2 separate regions of the Homo sapiens genome follow, and region 1 is linked to region 2. Evidence: promoter capture Hi-C in human tissues and cell types (Jung and others, 2019). All regions are on one chromosome and are shown on one strand. Each heading gives the region's core, a stretch centred on a gene start or on the middle of the fragment in contact. The rest is flanking DNA. Distances are from core to core; before and after follow the strand shown.

The links. Contacts are between HindIII fragments. The study calls those that stand out against the background at their distance.
Region 1: a fragment that was not itself captured here is called in contact with the fragment with the promoter of XKR3 in region 2 in 2 of the 25 tissues and cell types used here (H1 embryonic stem cells and spleen).

The regions. Positions count from the first base shown.
Region 1 is chr22:16,927,726-16,932,335 of GRCh38, reverse strand. No RefSeq gene overlaps it. Among named protein-coding and RNA genes, the nearest start is that of GAB4, 78 kb to the left of the region's middle. The HindIII fragment of the contact is 8,642 bases long and covers 1-4,610 here.
Region 2 is chr22:16,822,598-16,827,314 of GRCh38, reverse strand. XKR3 (XK related 3) reads left to right here and starts at 1,904. Exons shown (of 4, transcript NM_001386955.1): 1 at 1,904-2,024. The HindIII fragment of the contact is 14,808 bases long and covers 1-4,717 here.

The DNA.
Region 1 (4,610 bases), core at 110-2,609, 110 kb before region 2:
CATTTAATTTGTTTTATCAGTCTCTCATAGATTCTGATTAAATAGCAATTCCTTTCTTCTGGGTCACAACATCAGAGGAGCCCCTAACAAATAGCTCCACACTATGAGGTCCACATTAGAGCAGCAGGAGAAGAATCTTCCAGCCCAGGAAACACCCAGACCAGAGGGCCCTGACTCAGATCCCTTCAGCTCTCTTGCTTTATAAAGCTGCTGGCTGCTCCCTGTTCTCCCTTCTCCCAGCCGTGAGGCTTTGGATTCTTCTTTAAGGAAGGCAGCTGGCAGACAATTAGGGGGTTTGGTAGTCTGAGTAAATTACTATCCCCCCATGAAAAGATGTTCACCTTCTACCCTCTGGAACCATAAAATTAGCCTTATATGGCAAAAGGAACTTAAAATCAGCCCCTTCTGCAGTTTCTTCTGCAAAAATGCAACTTTCTCAAAGACTTTAAATCTCTGAACAGCTTTATTTCAGACTTGGGGGAAGGGTCACATCTTTCCTTGCCCTGAGCCTTCCTCCTCTCTTCCATTAGTTTCCATCTCTGACTCCAGCCTTCCCTCTTTCTTCCTAATTAGATTGTGTCCTGCAAATCTAATTTGTCCTCCTACTAGGAAATCCCACCCTCCTCAGGAGTAATGAGATCTGACCCCTAGGCTCTCAGACACCTGCAGTGTACAAAACTCAATCTAGGGGTTTACCCAGGAGATTTTCTCCCTACGTGGAATTCTGGTGCTAGCTCTCCTTATAGTAAACTGTGCTCTGTCTCTTGTCCAAATTGAAACCAAAGGCTAACAAGTTGGAAAAGGCTGAGAGATCAGAGAGAAACATCTTCTCAGAGAGGCAAATGCCATTCTTTCACCTTGTGTGAGTTTCCTATAGCAGCTGTAACAAATCACTATGTCATTACTGGCTTCAAATAGCATAGAATCATTCTTTCACAATTCTGGAAGAGAGAAATCTCACACAGGTGTCTTTGGGCTAAAATCAAGCTTCCCTGTGGGAAAGAGTTTGTTTTCTTGCCTTTTCCATCTTCTAGAGGCTGCTGTCTTTCCTTGGCCATGGCCTTTCCCTCACATCACTCAGCTTCTTCATAGTCACATCTCCTCTCCAAATCTGACCCTCCTTCCTCCCTCTTATGCAGACAATTATGATTACATGGGGTCCAAAAATACTCCAAGATAGTATTCAGTTCTCAAGATCCTTCATCACATTTGCCAAGTTTTTCTACCATAAAATTCCCCACCAATCCATTTATGTATAGAGTTGATAGTTAAACAAGAAGATCGGAAATGGCCATTGCATCTTTAGTCTGGATTTTCCCTGAGCACTTTTTGTGTTATTTTTCTAGGGCTGCTGTAACAAATTGCCAAACATTTAGTGGCATAAAAATAGAACATCCAGAGGCCTCTCTGCAGACATCTGGCTGGCTCTGGGGTGACCCCTGTCCCAGCCTCTGGAGTGGAACCCTGGGAATGGGGCAGCATCACTGGCCCTGCTCAGTCCAGCCTCAGCCACCATGGGACCCGAGGCATCTACGTCACCCCCACCACTTCCTGGCAGCCACAGGTGGAGTGAGCCTGCCTGCCCTGGGAGACTCCTGGAGAGGGGCTCTGCTTAAGGTCATCAGGCCTTGACTCCAAGGAAATCTGTGCTTATTTAAATCTTGGGATGTGCAACCTGTTTATACAGAGCCATGACAGGAATGACCTGCCCATCCACACTCCCCTTGCCCTTAGGTCTAGAAGCAGCAGGTTCCCTGGACACTCCAAGATGCTCTTCCTGGCCCTGCTCCTCTGCCTCTTGGTGATGGGCTTTCAGGGTGAGTGCATTTCCCACTGCAGACCATGCAGGGGCTTTAGCCCTTGACATGGGGATAATGAGCTCAAATGTGCTTTGGAAATTATAGTGTAACATATAGAAGTGATTTGCCTTAACTCTCATTAGGAAACTGAGGCACAGAGTCCAGGGCTAACCAGGAGGCAGAGGTGCATACAGCCCTGAACCTGTTCCCAGCCTCCCTGAGGACCATGGATCCTCTGTCCCTGCTCACACCCCATGTCCACCTCTCTTCAGAGCTCACTGTGGTTCTGGTCAGGCTGTGAAGAATGGACCTGACCATTAGCCCCTCAGGGTGGGCTCTACCATGCTTGTATCCCCTTTCATAGGTGCCCTTGTCCTGAGAACCCCTCCCCAGCCAATTCTATCTTGATTCTGATCAAATGCAAAGATGTGAGGGCCCAGGAGTACTAATTTCTGTCATGTTTAAGCATGACAGGGTCTTCTAAGGAACAGGACAGGTTTCTAGAAATCCTTTGAGAGAAGTAATGCATTGTGCTCCTGAATAGGGTGTCCTTGCAGGATGCAGGGGACAGACTATCTCAACTCCATCTCCGGAGACCTTAGCAGCATCTGGAGGTGACTTTGTCTCTATCACCTGCAGAAACAGCACAGATGTAGGCACCTCCATCACCTAGGACAAGCAGAGATCCCAGGAGGCTTCCAGTCTGCTGCTCTTTGGGGCTTCTTCCCAGGCTGCTGGAACCGCTTCCAGTTTCCAGGGAAGTTTCTGGTTTTTGCTTCTCCCTCTCCATCCATGGAGTGAAAGCTGAAGATGCTGGAGTGTTTTCCTGCCAGCAGCCCTTCAGTTGGCTTCTTACAGTGAAAAGTCCCCAACCAAAAATACCCTTTCTGGATGGAAGATTCTGCCCTGATGCAAAGACACTTGCTTCCTGCAGAAGCCATAATCTGAGAGTGTGAAGCGTTCATATTATAGTTGTCTTTGTTCTCAGAGTCTGTGATTTCTGGCCTGTTGATACAGGGGAAGATTGAAGAGTTATTACTTCAAGTTTACACCTGATCTACAAAGAGGGAGAGGCAAAGGGTTGTGAAGCTAAGGTGTTTCCTAGACAGGTGCTTTACCTGGATTGATATATTAATTTTTCCATTTTCTTGCAGCATATAAGAGCACTCCAAAACTTAAAGGAGTGAAACAACAATTTATTATTTGTTGTGATTCTATGGGTTGGTTGGGAGGTTTTTCTGCTGCCTGGCCTGGGCTTTCTCATGCAGCTGCCGTCAGCTGAATGGTTTTTATGTGTCGTGAACTGAACTAACTCTTTTTATGACAAGTATGTTTTATTCTCATCTTCAGCTGACAATACTGAGGCAGGGAGAGGTCATGAAATGCCTCCAAGGGGCGCATTACATCCAAATTGTAAGCCAGGATTCTACTCAGAAAATCTGACTCACAGAAGTCAGTGAGGAGTGTGACAAGACGGGGATTCTGCAGGGCTACCTGGATGGGACACTCTGTGAGAGGCCCCAGAAGTGCTGCTAGAGAGTGGAGTGGTCCCTGTGCAACAATTTGAGCACATGGTTTTGTCTCTTAACACCTTCGAGAAGTTCATTAATAGACATTAAGGGAGGGAAGTAGTGTGATTAAAATGGCATTTTCAATAGCTAAGAATCACAGAAAAATGTTACTTTATGTGACTCCTAAGATAATGACAAGGAAACAAGAAAATAATATGAAGGCAAAAAAGAAAACATTAGACTGAGGCCTTTGGATAGCAGGTTGAGACTCCTCGTAGTGGAGAGCACGTGGGTATCTTCTTTCAGGAGATGTGAACAAGCAGGGAAAGGAAATGTGAGCTAGAACAAAATCTTGGTTACTCACAAGAAGCCTAAGAGGAAATGAGAAGTCTTCTTCCTGAGCACCAGAAGGCAGAGAAAAAATTCTCCATGAAAAAAAACAAACAAGAGAAGTTAGAGGAATTGCATGCTCAACACATCCCACAAAACACCTTGCAACCAGCAGAGGGGGAGCCAATAATCTCAGAACTCAAATGTTTCCCAAATCTCACCATTTCCCCACCTTCACCCCCACTGCTCCACACTAGTGAAACCAACATCATCTTCATCTTAGACCATGGCCAGGCTCTCCTCAGATCACCCAGCTTCTCCCCTCACCCACCAGCAGTCTACTCCCAATTCAGTAGCCAGGGTGATCTTTTAAATAGATGAATAGTGCTCCTCCAGGGTCAAAATCTCACAAAAGTTTCCACATCACACAGAGTAAAAGGCCAATTCCTACCTGGCCCCATCTTCCTTGAACCCTCCCTGTTACTTATGCAACCGCTTTCATGGTTCTGTCCTCTGACTCACTGGACTCCAGACTTGACTCTCTGGTTTCCTGGTTCTGCCCTAAACAAGGCTCACACAGTCCCACGCTTGGAGCTCTACTCACTGGTCCCTCAGCAGTGATGCTTTTCTCCAGACCCCTCTTGGGCTCCCTCCCTGACTCCCAAAGACAACCTAGAACTTCCCATCTTAATGATCTCTCTGAATGTGTTCATAGGACACCCTACTCCATGCTTTTGCTGGAGGCGTTTTTCACATTCTACCTTATATATATATATAATTTATTTCTTTATGATTTTACACTTTATATGCTGACTCCCTTTAGATGAATTTAAGCTTCATGGGATCGGGGCCATTGTCTATTATTTGCATTGCTGTATCCCAGTGTATTGGGAGTACCTGGCAAACAGTAGGTGCTCAGTGGGGGGCACTCTTCCCAGCAGTCTGTATGTCTAGAATTCTGGGAAGATTG
Region 2 (4,717 bases), core at 655-3,154:
AGAATGATTACTTACACAGTTTATTCTGCAAAAGTTTCATGCCTGCAGAATCTTTTAAATTAATAAGGAGGGCCAGGCATGGTGGCTCATGCCTGCAATCCCAGCGCTTTGGGAGGCCGGGACAGGCGGATCATGAGGTCATGAGTTCGAGACCAGCCTGACCACCATGGTGACACCCTGTCTCTACTAAAAATACAAAAATTAGCCAGGTGTGGTCCATGTGCCTGTAGTCCCAGGTCTCGGGAGGCTGAGGCAGAAGAATCGTTTGAACCCAGGAGGCGGAAGCTGCAGTGAGCTGAGATTGTGCCACTGCACTCCAGCCTGGGCAACAGAGCAAGACTCTGTCTTAAGAAAATAATAAATAAATAAATAAATAAATAAATAAATAAATTAATTAATATCCTCAATCCCTGAAATAAACATAATTTTCTCCTTGACACACACAGTCTTACTAGATTGGTGCGAGGAGCATAGGGCCTGGTAATTGGACGGTGCAAAAAAATAAAAATAAATATTTTAAAAACTCTCTCAGCTTGGCATGTTGGATTGAAAACTGATGCAGTGTAAAACATATATGGTAAAAAGACATGGCCATATAGACAAAAGGTAGGTTAATGGTTGTCAGGGGCTGGGGAATAGAAAGAACTGTTAAGTAGATAATGGGGTTTCCTGTTTGATGATAGAAATGTTTTAATAATATAATTTTGAATAATGTAATTTTGTATTATGTGAAACATACCTTAAAAAATTAAAATAAAATCAAATATGAATAAAACTGATTAGATTTCAGAATAAAAAGTTATTCATGTATGTATCTATTCAAAACATTTTTTATTCATATCATAGAATAAATAATACTTTCATTTGGTATGTCTGTAAATATCTGACATGTTAATTATGTAAGATTTTAAAAGCAAGTGACCTACTTATAAGGAGATCCCAAAGAGTGGGAGATTTAAAAATGTAATAATAACAAGAAAGTGTTTTAAGTAAAGTAAATTTGTATGTATGTCTAAGCAGAAAATTTTATTATTTGGTTCCAAGAGCCAAATATCTATTTAAAAAATATTTCTTAAGGAATAATCTCTGTGTCCTGCAACGTAAAGTTATCATTATAAAACAGGAGTCAAATTTGTGAATTAATCTTAGAATTGAATAAAATATTTCTTCTCTTTGAAAAATAATCATGCCCCATTTACAGTAAGAATTTTTATATGTTCATGCTTGAGAGGTGGTATATTAAAATTCTAATGCCTTGGCTTTAAGTGTTGAATATGTGTGGAATAAAAAAATAATGATTTTGATATTTCTTATACTGTAGGAGGCAGTTCTCTCATACTGGAAAGAGGTGTCATTGTTAGAAGCTTGTCTTGGTTTAACATAGTTTAAGTTTTGGGGGTGTATTTTGTTTAGTTCAAAATTTTCCATATTAGCAGTAAGTAACAAAAATGTCCAGATCAGAAAACTCTTTGTGAAAATAAAACAGGTGCTCCTACCAGATGTGGTTCATCAATTTTGACAGAATTTTCATTTAAAAAAGGCAAAATTAAAATTTGTTTAATTGTTTGCTTTCTGGGGAATTTTCTTGTTGCTCTGTCTGAAGGAAGTACAGACTTCTTTTGTGATGGGAGGGGATGAATGGCTACTAGACAGCAGCAAAAGATGGGCCATGGGTGCGAAGAGAAGAGGGAGTTAATGGGAGAATCAGAAAAATATCACCTTAAATGTAGGACAATCGAAGTCAAATTGTGGCTGAGCGTTTTGGGGAACTAAGATGTGTGACTCTGTAGGGAGGAAGAATGCCTTGGTGTTTTCAAGGGAAGATGACTCAGCTAGTGCAGTCACCTGACTCCAAACTGCAAGCCTACTTTAGTCATAAAAAGGCAAGAAAATAAGCAATTTTACCTGCAAAGCAAAGGACGTAGTGTTGAAAACGAGACCAGAAATGGTGCTGTTAAAGAGGTGAACAAAAGCATTTACTTTTTGAACGAGTTTCAAAACTGTGAGGGTGGCAAATAGGCAAGGTAAGTAGGAGCAGCCCTCGACCATCTCAGATCAGCTTCTTCAGCCTACCTTGACCTCTGCCTGTCTCAGCTGGGGATCTTAACATAAATCTCTGGATATCAGGGGTGGCTTTTCCCGAGTCTTGAGCCTAGAAACTCCCTCTCTTGATTCTGATTTTCAGAGAAGAGAAGCAGCTGCTTAGCATTTGGGTGGGACAGTGGTTGTTACTAATATATTACAAATTTCAGCATGTTTTTAAACATCAGAAGGAGAAAGTGCTTCGTATTTAAGTGAAATCTCAAAGGGGCAGAAATCTACCATATTTTTTGTTATTCAGATGCAGTGATGCACTGGCTATGTGAGTACAAGAAACAAGTTCACTTAATCACAAACACATGCCTAAATTCCATTGTTCAGTGACTTCACTTTCACTTTCTACCTTGAATTTTAGACTCTGGAAGACCCATTTCTAAACTCTGTGGCCCTTTTCATATGTGCATATTTTCATAAGTGTTTTCCAGAAATAAATTATAGAGGTCCTTCTGTGAGTCCAAAGGAGAAGGAAGTGGTTGGGGCAGCCAGAAAGGTGCAATCTGCATTAATATCATATTCGATGTATGGATTGCTGGGGAGAGAGTGGGATATATTTCTTATAATGTTGGATGTATTTTTCCCCTATCCTGAGGCCCAGAAACTCTGATGTCTCTGCAGTTGTCTTTCCATGCTTTCCTTTATACCCCTCGCCTACTTCTGTAATTTCTCTCTCTACTCTCCCTCCTCCTTCCCACCCTTTTTCTTTCCATTTGTGCTCTCTCCCTCCATTCCTTCTTTTTCCCTTTTCTTTCTTTTTGTGGGTATCTGGTAGCTGCAACTTATTTTCTTTCTGCTTTTCTTACTCACTTACTCTATTTACTAGGTATTTAACAATTGTCTTTAAAAGTAACATCCTTTCTTTCTTAAAATTTTATCCCTAATGGACATTATTTGGGGAAAAACATTTTTATGGTGCCTCTAGATAAGTAATTATATCATCTGCACATGATTCCCGTATTTTCTTACATGCCCGTTCCTCGTAGGTGGAAATGGGTACTTCATTGTACTCTTCTCTCTTTATTTACAAGAGTGTTTTTTCTGTCTCATCCCTTTAAATAACACATTGTCTCTCTTTTTGTGACATTGAATTAATTAGGTCAGATGCGATTTTTCTCATCTATTCATTTGAAGACTGTTTCATATTGCTTCTAGGGCCTATTTGCAAGCAACAAATTATTTTGTTGTTGTTGTTGTTTTGTTTTGTTTTTTAATTTTTGGACCATTTGTCTCATCACTCCAACAAGCAAGAATTAGTTCTCATCATTAAGATCCCTTCAAGATTTCATTCACTTGTTTCAGCAGCCTTGAATTATCATCACCTGGACCTGTTGTTACATCAAGAATCTCTCATTTCTAATGTTCTACTTTGGACACTGTTACCTGTGAGTTTGTTTACATTAAAAAAAAAAAACCTTTTAGTACTTGAGTACCCTAAAGTTTCATATTTTGAATTGGTGTCAGATTTATTATTATTGATCTCTCCATTGCTGGAGAAAACTAAGCAATAGGTAAACTCTATTCTTTTGGTAATTTGTATTTTCTGAATGTTTCACAGTAAATGTTTACTAGTCTTGTGATGCTGCAAATTGGCAATCAGATATATTTTAAAGTGACAAGGTTGCCCTGTTCATCACCAGTTCTGTACATCACGCAGATCAAAAGTAAGGTGTTTAAGTTTATTTTAAATGTTTTTCCCAAAAATTCTGCTTCCACCACTTTTCCAAGCTCTACCAGATGGATACTCAAGAATTGACCAAGGCAATCTCTTCTCTCATATTTCACTGTCAAATACTCTTAATCAGTGAGTCCTGTCAATTCTGTGTTTCTAAGAAATGATGATGGTGGTCATGATTATAATGATGTCAATAGGAACACCTTTCCAAACTTCACTGTGTACCACGAACTCTTCTTCCTGCTGCCGATGTATTATTTTCTCTACACTGCTATCTCCCCAGGAAGATTCTAATGATGTTATCATTGTACAGATGTGGAAACTGTAGCTTATGAGGTTTTAATTTTGCAATTCAAGGAAATGACAGGATTCTGGCAGTGTGGTAGCTCATGCTTGTAATCCCAACACTGGAAGGCTGAGGCAGGTGGATCACTTTAGCTCATGAGTTTGAGACCAGGAAGATGGTCAAACCCCATCTCCTCAAAAAACACAAAAATTAGTGTACATGGTGGCATGCACCTGTGGTCCCAGCTACTTGGGAGGCTAAGGCAGGAGGATCATTTGAGTCCTGGAGGTTGAGGCTTCAGTGAGTCTAGGTCACGCCACTGCACTCCAACCTGGGTGACAAGGGCAGATCATGTCTTAAAAAATAAACAAATAAATACCCACCACAACCAAAAGCAAAGGAAGCAAGCATAATAAGCTAGTTAATATGCTTGTTAGCAATGTGGACATTTATTTTATAGTTAAAAGAAAAAAATAGAAGTGACAGTATTGTAACTCAGAAAGTCTGGTTCCAGAGTTTGTACTGCTAACCAGAACAACTTGAGCATCAGTTGATATTTTCCATTTTTTTTGCTCTACTTTGTCTGATATTAATATAGCCATTCCAGCAGTCTTATCACTAGGGTTAGTAGTGCACAGCTTTATTCCATCTCTTCCGTAGTA